Linked DNA regions of Homo sapiens: region 2 is linked to region 1. Evidence: promoter capture Hi-C in 16 types of primary human blood cells and fetal thymus (Javierre and others, 2016). All regions are on one chromosome and are shown on one strand. The core of a region is centred on a gene start or on the middle of the fragment in contact, and the rest is flanking DNA. Distances in the headings are between cores, read along the strand shown. Region 1 holds the start of WEE1 (WEE1 G2 checkpoint kinase). Region 2 overlaps CAND1.11 (a long non-coding RNA gene).

Evidence for each region. The method cuts DNA at HindIII sites, captures the fragments that hold promoters and counts their contacts. A CHiCAGO score of 5 or more calls a contact.
Region 2: a fragment that was not itself captured here is called in contact with the fragment with the promoter of WEE1 in region 1 in 3 of 17 cell types (total B cells, activated CD4 T cells and fetal thymus); the score reaches 6.2 in total B cells.

What each region holds. Positions count from the first base shown.
Region 1 is chr11:9,569,953-9,575,555 of GRCh38, forward strand. WEE1 (WEE1 G2 checkpoint kinase) reads left to right here and starts at 3,718. Exons shown (of 11, transcript NM_003390.4): 1 at 3,718-4,557. The coding sequence starts at 3,982. RefSeq lists an enhancer at 2,944-3,796 and silencers at 3,371-3,720, 3,741-3,950, 4,241-4,340. The HindIII fragment of the contact is 14,841 bases long and covers 1-5,603 here.
Region 2 is chr11:10,322,082-10,327,684 of GRCh38, forward strand. All of the region lies in intron 1 of CAND1.11 (a long non-coding RNA gene), which reads left to right. Among named protein-coding and RNA genes, the nearest start is that of CAND1.11, 17 kb to the left of the region's middle. The HindIII fragment of the contact is 1,089 bases long and covers 2,563-3,651 here.

The DNA of each region.
Region 1 (5,603 bases), core at 2,468-4,967:
ACCAAGAACTCTTCCCTTCCCATCCACAACCCAAGCCCTTCTGCCTGCCTTAGCCTACTTCAAAGACCTCCCATTTAGGGACGCAGACAGGTGGCAAAGTAGGAGTTGACAAAACAAAACAAAACATTGTTAAGAGTGTTTACCTTCAGGAAGGGGAACTGGGCTGGGATTTGAAGGGATAGGTGGGAGAATTTTGTACCATTTAAGTTTTTGTTACTGGAGTGGGGAAAAACCATGGGGAAAAATAGGAAGTGTGATGGCTGCTACCTCTACAATCTTGCATTAAATAGAGTACTAGAGTGGTGATCTCTGTTCAATTTTTTTTTTTTTTTCCTGAGATAGTTCTCGGTCTGCTGCCTAGGCTGGAGTGCAGTGGCACAATCACAGCTCACTGCAGCCTTCATCTCTCAGGCTCAAGGGATCCTCCCACTTCAGCCTCCTGAGTAGCTGGGACCACAGGCATGTGACACCATGCCCAGCTAATTTTTAAATTTTTAGTAGAGGTGAGGTCTCACTATGTTGTCCAGGCTGGTCTTGAACTCCTGGCCTCAAGTGATCCTCCTGTCTTGACCTCCCAAAGTGTTGGGATTGCAGGTGTGAACAACTACCACACCCGATTCAAAATCTTAAATAGGCAAACTTATCTGCAAATGTGCCAATTTAGGAAGCGAATAAACCAACAATTATTTAAATAAGGGCTCTTTTATCACTCACAAGGGAGTGAACGCCTAATCCACGTTAGAATACTGCAATAAACAAGGGTCCCCTACCCTCGGGGACCTTATTTTTCTAGAAGGAGATAGTAATAAACTAACAACGTACTTTGAGATAGAAATAAGCCTGCTAAGGAAATAAAGCCAGGTGTTGTGAAAGAGCAAAGAGTGAGGGAGGGGACGTGAGAACAGAGATACGGAATTCTTACATAGGAGGAGTTTAGGAGCATCAGTCTAGTTGTGGAGAGGCAACTAAAGGGCTTTAAAGTCCCATTTACTTAGAAAGCACACTATTTTCACATGCAGTTTATGTTACAGATCGATAAAAGTAGGGTTCTCTATTTTTATTTATGCTTCATAATAAATTGAGAAAATGTCAATTATATCAAATAATTATATTTGTCATCAGGAGTGGCAGGAGGGGGCCCACAGCCTGGGCAATATGGTGGCTCATGCCTGTAATTCCAGCACTTTGGGAGACGGAGACGGGCAGATTGCTTGAGCCCAGGAGTTCTAGACCAGCCTGGGCAACATGGTGAAACAGAGTCTCTACTAAAAATGCAAATATTAGCTGGGCGTGGTAGCACACATCATTAGTCCCAGCTATTTGGGAGGGTGAGGTGGGAGGATCTCTTGAGCCTGGGGAGATCGAGGCTACAGAGCCGTGATTGCACCACTGTACTCCACTTTGAGACAGGGTGGACAGAGTGAGACCCTGTCTCGAAAAATAAAAATTTAAAAAAAAGGAGTGGCAGGAGGGGAAGTGTTGGAGCAAGGGTTCTGAAAATCACTCCTTGGCTTTGGCCACTGTGGATCATTGACTAACTCTCCTTATACAAGTCTAGAATTCTTGTCCTCCAAGAGCTTAAAATTAAGTTTGCATGACCATATAAAAAACACATTTATACACCAGTTAGCAAATGTTAGGAGAAAAGACAGCTGTTGATCCTTCACTGTGTCTTCAGTTGTGTGATCTCAGGAAATTCCCGATTTGATGTGTTAAGTACTACCGTGTGTTTCAAGAAAAATTCAGCTTGAGTTTATTTAGCCTTTGAAAAGCATTAGAACAACATATATGACAAAGTGTTAATATGCATAAAGTGCTAACAATAAGAAAAATAGGCAATAGAGATAAATGTAAATTATCATTAAACCCATGACAACTGTTCAACAATATGAATCAAAACAACAAAACCACATCAACGAACATCCACTGATGTCCTGAATTCACAGAGTGTGCTCTAATCCACTGCTAGTGAGAATGTATTGTGTTTCTGGAGGGGGAGTTTGCCAGTTTATATCCTTTGACTGAGGAATTCTAACTCCAGGGAGGTATCCAAAAGAGTATTTTAAAAAGGCCAGGCGCGGTGGCTCACGCCTGTAATCCTAGCACTTTGGGAGGCCGAGGCGGGCAGATCACCTGAGGTCAGGAGTTTGAGACCAGCCTGCCAACATGGTGAAACTCCGTATTTTGCATTTTGTAAAAATACAAAAATTGGCCAGGCCTGGTATGTGCTTGTAATACCAGCTACCCGGGAGACAGGAGAATCGCTGGAACCCGAGAACCCGGGAGGTGGGGGCTGCAGTGAGCCGAGATCGCGCCACTGCACTCCAGCCTGGGGCGACAGAGCGAGACTCCGTGTCGAAAAAAACCAAACCAAACAAAAAACATGGAGAAGGAAGCATATACACCACGGGGTTGTTTACAACAGAAAACTGGAAGAGGCCGGGAGCGGTGGTTCACGTCTGTAATTCCAGCACTTTGAGAGGCCGAGGCGGGCGGATCACTTGAGATCAGGAGTTGGAGACCAGCCTGGCCAACATTGGGAAGTTCGTCTCTACTAAAAATACAAAAATTAGCCAGGTGTGGTGGCAGCCGCCTGTAATCCCAGCTACTCGGGTGGCTGAGGCATGAGAATCGCTTGAACTCTAAAGGCGGAGGTTGCAGGTTGTAGTGAGCCGAGATCGTGCCACTGCACTCCAGCCTGGGTGACAGAGCAAGACCCCGTCTCAGAAAAAAAAAAAAAAATAAATAAACAAAGAAAGAAAAAAGAAAACTGGAAGAAACGTGTAAGTGCATTAAGGGACAGATTAAATCAGTTTAACGAAGCACTAGGGAAATTTTTTAAAATTGCGTTTGAGTTTGCCGCGAGCCGGGCCAATCGGTTTTGCCAACGCATGCCCACGTGCTGGCGAACAAATGTAAACACGGAGATCGTGTGCCGGGCACTTGGTTTCGTGGTGGGCAACTGTGCTGCTGTTTCTTTTGGCCGCGGACAAGGTCGGCAGAGGTGGACCCCTGCTTGGGAGAGCTCTTCTCGCTGTGCTGACACCCGCCCCTAACAGTCACCCACCCCGGGGAAATAATGGGGCTCGGAGGCCTCCTCCCAGCCAGTGTCCAGCCTAAGCACATCGGCTCCCGCAGTTCAGAAAGGTCCCGAGGCCCGAGTCACCATTTCCGGCTCAGACCTCGACCCTGAACGTGGCTGCCCACTGCCACGCCCACTACGCCCCAGTGGCTCGCCCCAGGGGACGAGGGGCAAGAAGCGGCCTCCGAGGGCAGCGGCCGAAGGCCATTCGGTCCCTGGCTCTTCCCAGCTCGCAGAGACCCGGAGGCGCTGCCCGGCCGCCTGCCCCTCTTCAGATCCCCCAGCACCGGAGGAGCAGCGAGGGGGGTGCGTCCAGGCCGGCTTTCGGGTCGGCTTAGGCGAATCCAGCTCTCTTTTGCCCCTCCCAGAAGGCCCAGCCCCGTCCGGGCGGTGTTCGGGCGGCGCCGGGCCGGGCCCCCCGCCGCCCCAGGCTCGCTCATAGGCCCGGAACACCACAGCCCGCCCAGACTTGGCTGGCGCCGAGCCGGGGGTGGAGCCAGCGGGTTCCCGCCAAAATCGCGTAGCTGGTCCTTCCCCCGCGGGCTACGTCGCGCCCTCCTTTTTTTTTCAAACCCGGAGCTGCACTGGGATTGGTGGACTGGGCACTCACGTGGTTAACGGTCGCGGGAAGCCGCGGAGCCCGAACCTGAGACTGGACCTGAGGAGACCTCAGCCTCGGTGCTCGGGCCGCCCCGCCTCTGCCGGAAAGTCCGCGCCGCCGCTGCCGCCACCGTCCGCAGCCCGAGCGCCCCGGAGCCGCAGGCCGCCGCCGCGCAGAGACGCCGCGGCTGCGACTAGGCGCGCCCAGCCGCACGTGGCGGACCCGCCCCCAGGCCCGCAGTGTCCTGGACCCCGCAGGCCTCCGCTCTCCTGTCCTCGGCCCCGTCCCCAGGGCCGCGATGAGCTTCCTGAGCCGACAGCAGCCGCCGCCACCCCGCCGCGCCGGGGCGGCCTGCACCTTGCGGCAGAAGCTGATCTTCTCGCCCTGCAGCGACTGTGAGGAGGAGGAAGAAGAGGAGGAGGAGGAGGGCAGCGGCCACAGCACCGGGGAGGACTCGGCCTTTCAAGAGCCCGACTCGCCGCTGCCGCCCGCGCGGAGCCCCACGGAGCCCGGGCCCGAGCGCCGCCGCTCGCCCGGGCCGGCCCCCGGCAGCCCCGGCGAGCTGGAGGAGGACCTGTTGCTGCCCGGCGCCTGCCCGGGCGCGGACGAGGCGGGCGGTGGGGCGGAGGGCGACTCGTGGGAGGAGGAGGGCTTCGGCTCCTCGTCGCCGGTCAAGTCGCCGGCGGCCCCCTACTTCCTGGGTAGCTCTTTCTCGCCGGTGCGCTGCGGCGGCCCAGGAGATGCGTCGCCGCGGGGTTGCGGGGCGCGCCGGGCGGGCGAAGGCCGCCGCTCGCCGCGGCCGGACCACCCGGGCACCCCGCCACACAAGACCTTCCGCAAGCTGCGACTCTTCGACACCCCGCACACGCCCAAGGTGAGAGCGGCGGGCGCGGGCACCCGGCGGCCGGGGCCGCGGCGCCGGAGGGGCCAGCGCCGCTGCCTGGGTTCGGTTACAGAAGCGGCCGGCCGCTCCCCCCTCGCTTTCCTGCGCCGCCCCCCAAAGTTGGCAGCCCTTGTGTTTGGCCCTGCCCCGAGGTTGTCCGTTGAGATTATGTAACTGAACAATGGGCCTCGTCTGGAACTTCATCTTACAAAGGGGCCGATCGGCCCGTCCGGGTGGCCAAGGATTTGCCGCCCGTTGAGTCCGGGCCGCCCCGAGCGTGTCAGCCCCGAGTGCGGCACCGATAACGCGGTTCGCGAGGATGCTGGAGGGTGCCGGCCCGGCCACCTGACACTCCCGAGCCATAGGATGCCTTTTAAACGCGGCGATCGGGCCTGTAATTTGGGCGGCGCGGGCAGAAGGAGTTTAAAGAAAAATAATTGTCCCGCCCTGATCGTGTCGTGTCGTGTGGCGTGGATGGGGGAAAGGTCTGGGGCATGCAGGGAGACTACGCTTGGACTTGGGAGTAAAGGCTGGCCTTCCAAGCATTTACAGTCCTACAGACTCATCCTAAGTCCAGGCAGTACTGAGGCCTGTTTCTGGACAAGGTCTTGGCCCAGCATTTGTTTTTATCGTGGGTTTGCGGTGCCCAGAGTTTGGCCGGCCTCCGTGTGATTAGGAACATCCTACCGTAGATAAGGTATCTTAAAGAAGGAGGTGTTCAGCACCTGTGTTTTGAAAGGCCTTCGAGTACTGCGCAGATGACCACTTTTAAAACTGCAGATTTTAAAGCTGATACTTCCAGAGATTAAGACAAGCCTCGCATTTGTAAGGTTAACAGGGAAGATGCACCTTTTAAAGTGAGTTTGTTTTGTTTTCAATGTACTGTTTGTCATCAGCCTAGGCAATCTGTGTGCTTTCGAGCTGTACTGTTTATTGGCCGACTTGCTCAAGGCAAAATCCCTCTGGAAGTGAGGGGAGGAGTCCAGCGGAGGTGGCTATGGAAGCCCTATCTAGATGGGGGAGGGGAGATTTTATGG
Region 2 (5,603 bases), core at 1,857-4,356, 750 kb after region 1:
TAAGGTGTGTCTGAGAGAGTTCTGAATCACCATTTTGGGATGGAACAAACTGACCAGTCACTTCTTTTTTTTTTTTGAGACGGAATCTCGCTCTGTCACCCAGGCTGGAGTGCAGTGGCGCAATCTCGGCTCACTGCAAGCTCCGCCTCCCGGGTTCACGCCATTCTCCTGCCTCAGCCTCCTGAGTAGCTGGGACTACAGGCGCCTGCCACCACGCCCAGCTAATTTTTTGTATTTTTAGTAGAGACAGGGTTTCACCATGTTAGCCAGGATGGTCTTGATCTCCTTACCTCGTGATCTGCCTGCCTCGGCCTCCCAAAGTGCTGGGATTACAGGCGTGAGCCACTGCTCCCGGCTGACCAGTCACTTCTTAAAGGCAAAACTGGATTTGCTCTGCAAAACAATTCAGCAAAAACTTGGGTTCCAACTCTGGTGCTACACTGTGACAATGGAAACTTTCCAGCTACAACTTGGAAGTTGGGAGCCAAGCACAATACTAAGTCAAGGAAGGTATTTGAGGCCAAAGCAGACAGTGGTCTTGGCACTGCCTGCTCCTGAGCCCAAGCTGCAGCAGCTGTGGGGTGGTGATGCAGCTTTCAGAGATCTCTAAATCTCTAAGTACACCAGAAACCAGATTTTATTAACTCCCCTTTTCCACTTTTTTTTGCCCCTACATTTCTGCCATGGATTATATCATAATAGATGGTGAAAATGCTGTGAGGTGTATACTCAATTCCTAGGCATTCTTCCACTTAATCATACTCAGTTTTCTTTGAGGGCCTCCACATTGTAAATGAGCAACACCTTGATACTGGGAAAATGAATATGAAACTCAGGGCCACAGCCTCTGTGATCTGGTCATTCTGGGGCAGTCATTTTCCTACTTGGCCTACAGAACCAGGCAGGTCTCTGGCCTGGGGGTGGCGGGTGATGTTGTATTCTCTTGTCAAAGTGCACAGAGCCCACTCTGAGAAGATGCTATACTCTTCACGTTACAAGACGGCAATATGCCCGTTTCTGGGCCAATTGGCTGACTCAGAGATGAGGAGATTATTCCGTGACACTTTGTTTTCATTCCAGTCCAAAGGGCAAAAAAAAAAAAAAAAAATGTAAAACTCTGCTGCCACCTGCTGTTTCTTTAGGAATAAATTCTTGAAACGGTTCTAGGTTGATTGTATATTGGTTATCTTAGCCAAGTGCCTTGGTGGTGAATTTGGGGGATTTTGGAATATAAGTTTATGTAGTTGTGTACCAACTGGACTGTCATTTCCTAGGATGAACTGTTGGACCACATGGGTGGCTTCTCTCTTTCAGTCCATTAAGTCCTGCCTCCCTCATCCCTTGCTGAGACTCAAGGGCAGACTCCTTGATCCCAGACAACTTTCCAAGGGAGTTCACGCAAGGCTCTGACCAGTGAGGCTCCAGAGCAAAACCCAGGAGGCTTATAGGTTTAAGTGTCTTTTCTTTATGGGCCAATGATGTCTGAAAACTGTAGCAGTAGGTAAATTCCCCAAGCACAGACTATTCTCTGCTGGGTGTCAGTGGGTGGTATTGGAAGTGCCTCTCAGAAGTGCTCTTCTCAGCTTGAGGTTCATTTGTGATGAGGTTCATTTGTGGTGTCTCCAGATGTTTTATCTTTGTCTTCCTTGAGGAAACTGAGGCAGATTAAGGAAGACGAGTGTCCAGGAAAGTAAAGGCTAGCTCCATTTGAATCACACCCAGGTGAGAATACTTGAGCTCAGGTTAGATGATGAGAGGGATGAGGAAAACAGTGGCTCCTCGGAGCTCAAATAAAGAGCACTGGAGCATTAATATAGTCATAAGCTTAGATGGGCTTGATAAAGCCCTTAGTCATCTTATTGGAGGCATCCAGAGGACAGAGGCTGCCTTGCCTTGACTATATTAGTGGCTTGTTGCTGCTCCAAATCAGAAAGTGGGATTTTCCTTTTTGCCTTCTTTGGGAAGATCCATTTGTATGTAAATGAGTTCTTTTTGATTGCAGTCATTGTTGTAGCTGAGAATTCTTTCAACCAAGATCTTTTTCTTGGCAGAGATTACTGAGTCTATTAAGTGTGTTTTCATATAATTCTAAGTGACTTTTTAGATGGACACAGAAAGAAGTGTTAAGGAAATGACCCTTGGTCTTTTCTCCTATCAAAGAGAAAAGGCATTTGAGTGGTATCGATAAGCATTGAAGGTAACTGATGGCTTATCACTGTGTCTGGCATTATAGCTGGCACATTTATTGACTGAATGGTCAAACTTATCACCCGTTGTTCTTCCCAGAAGGTTCGTGAGACCTGTTGGGGAGGGACGGGGATAGAAAGGAACAGAAGGAAGAGTCTCAGAGTTAATCAGGTGGAAAGTCTGTAAGTGGAGTGAACCATGGGAGCTAGAATGCTATGGTAGGACCAAAATTAATACTGTATATGTCAAAATAAATGTGTATTACTTATAAAGTATATACAGTTCCTAAAAATTATCAAACAAGGTTATTATGTACAACATTTCTCCCTTCTGTGTCTCATTCCCTAAATATTATGATTGTTAACATATTGCACAAGCTTGACCATGTTTATGCTTCATGTATTTTCTTGTTTATGTCCCCGTTGTTCTCCCTCAGTATTTTGTAAAGGCTTTGGAAAAGTTCCAGCCTATCTCAGCTATGTGAAGAAGAGTTCAGGGAAGGAGTTTGTATAACACTAAAGAAATGTCAGTATCTCCTCACAGGTAGGGGCTGACATGATGCCACGGCAATGGGAAATGAAGTGGGAAACCCGAAGCAGGAAGGAAAACTCAGGAGAACTGGGTTGGGATAGTGGTTTCAGCTTCTCCTCGCCTCCTAAAGAGTCTCTTGATAGTTCTCAGGCCTTGAAGGTTCTGCCTGCCCCCAGGTTCCCCACCCCAGGAAAATAAGCAACTTCTCAGGAGAATAATGAGGTTGGTGTTTACCTTTGTGCTTCATTTGAGTAGCATGAGAGCACCCCATTCCTCACATCTGTTCATTCTTCTCCCCTTAGAAATCTTGTCTCAGCTGAAAGGTCAGAGCTAGAAGCCCCAATCTGCTTCTAGCTCTGACCTTCTGGCTTTGTCAGGAATCCCTATGAATTTGTGCTGTTGATTTTCTTTGAACTAAATACAGAAATGTGTCTGCACTCTGGGATAGAGAAGAGAGTATAGTAATTGCCAGGAGAACTGAAGATGACCTTAAGGCAGGCCAGGTGACTGGTAAACCATACCCTTCACAAGGCTACCAGAGCTCTAGCCTGACCAATATTATTTTGAAAGGGAATACATTAGAATCCCTGGTGACTAGATGAACATGGCCATCACTATTTCTACAAACCTGTCTTCTGATGAACATATACTCCTGCTGGATGGTGTCAAGACATGCTTGTTTCTTGAGTGGTTTAGATACCAGTTATTGCCCCTCCTGTTATGCCTGGTAACTAGGATGCTGTCAAGAAAATACAGCAGGACTTCATTGAGCTTAAAAAGAGCGTTTCAAAAATATTGCATTAGCCTTTTGTCCTTTCAGTCTGTTTTTCATAGAACAAATGTAATCTTAGTCGCTACAAATTTGTTTAAAATAGCTCTTCTGGTGAGTCACCTAAAGTTAACTGCAGATATGGTATTGTTTTAGCCATGTCAAGCTTGAAATGTTATCCAAGTCCTAGGAACTACTCACTATGGGAAGCTGATGATGTATGTGCCCTCACACGTGTTTTGAGGGTGATCCTATAATGTCCGGAGAGAAAGAAATGCCTGAGATGAACTGGTCAGCATTACATTTCTCAGAACGGGCTGCAAGAGCTTCAGAAGCAAAAGGAGTGTTCTCTGTAGGCTCAGATGCTCACATGACCCAAGACACGTGAAGGGTCTGCCCATCATTCACCCCTCTATCCCCACAAGTGGTCAGAAAGTTAGGAAAATCTCCAAGAGACCATGCAGAAGGGTCAAAGGATCTTGCAGATGTTCTGAGCAAAAAAATGAAAACTTTAAACAGAACATTGTGCCATGACTTGAAAAGGTCATTATCTAGTTCACACTTACATCAGACTATAAATATTGTCAGAAAAATGGATATGTTTGCCAGGACCATGAACAGTAAAATTGCTTAAAATAGGCCACAGAAACCCTCAAGGCCAGTGGGGCCATGGCAGGCCATGACACTCAAACCTGATGCTGCCTTGTGAGAGACCTCAGCAGGAACAAAAGCCAACAGCTGCTTATTGGAAAATTTATACTCAGTGGCCCTCAAAAATTGCAAAAGCCTTTCAAGTCATGTAAGTTAATTTTGTCTCACTCTTCCACCAGGTAGAAGTGAGACAGGGAGACTCATGCTCCTTAAATGAGGTCCCTTGTCAAAGACTAGCTGTCTTATGGCCTTTGAATACTCTGCCCTTCCCCCTTCCTATGGTATAGCTTTGTGTCCAGTTAGCACTGAGCAGAAGCTGCTCTCCTGCTGTCCCCACCCACTGTTGGCTAAAGCCAGGTCACCTCCTGCCAGGCAGCGGCTGGGTGAAAGTCCAGAGAAGCTCTCCTGAATAAACAAGTCAAACAAAGGCAGTTCCCAGCAGTGGATGGGGCTGTACTCCAGAAGTCTATTTGCAAATCTGTCCTTTAGAACTCGGAAGACATTCCCCAGGAGGAGCAATGTTATGCAGTGTGGCAAGGTTCCCAGGCTAGCCCACACCTCTGATTTAACCCAGAATGGGCTGGGGAAACAGTGCTCTAGAACTCATCATTATGGGTAATACCTTTGTAGTCTCTGCTCTTCAGTTTACAAATAGTTGCTGAGCTAGGCATGGTTCCAGGTGATGTGAAGGTTCAAAGCTGCCTCAGCTTTGTGGAGTAGGTAGATTCAGTAGCTCCTGGGTGCACAGTGGCTGAGATTTTCCCAGTCTCATGAAATCCCTGCTTCTCTTTCCTATCTACATGTTTTAGGCTGAAAGTGAAGGGATGACCATTCCGGCTTTTCTTTGGTTTGTTTCTTCAAGATAACCTGGTGTAGGGAAGGGTGAGAGTCCTGGCTCTATCATTACACACAGCAGCATCTCCAAGCTTCAGTTTCTCCTCTGAAAAATAGGATAATATGTAGCTAAGAGAGCCTTGGAGTTGCCTCCCCAGCCCTTGTTCTTCTCTTGGTAACTACCATGACTTTTGTTAGGGTATCCACATCTCCCCCAATAGACCACTCCACTCCTGAAGACTCAGGCCTAGTGCAATTCCATTTTAAGGCCACTATTACAGGACCCAGTGATGGGTGCTGGCCTAATTCAGGCCAGTGAGCTTGCATAAGTTTATTGGCTTATTTCCAGAAAAACAAATTTCCTTTTTCCTGCTAGATAAGAATGGGACACATATGTGGTCTCACTAGCAATTCAGGCCAATGAGTTTGCATAAGTTTACTGGCTTATTTCCAGAAAAACAAGTTCCCTTTCTCCTGCTAGATAAAAGTGGGAGACATATGCAGTCTCAGCAGCAATAGAAAGCCACTCTGAGACTAAAACAGGGGCAAGCCCTAGATGGAAGCTCTCATTGTGAATGGCAGAGTGGAGTGATGGAAAATAGAACTCCCTGATAAAGTTGTTGAACTCCTA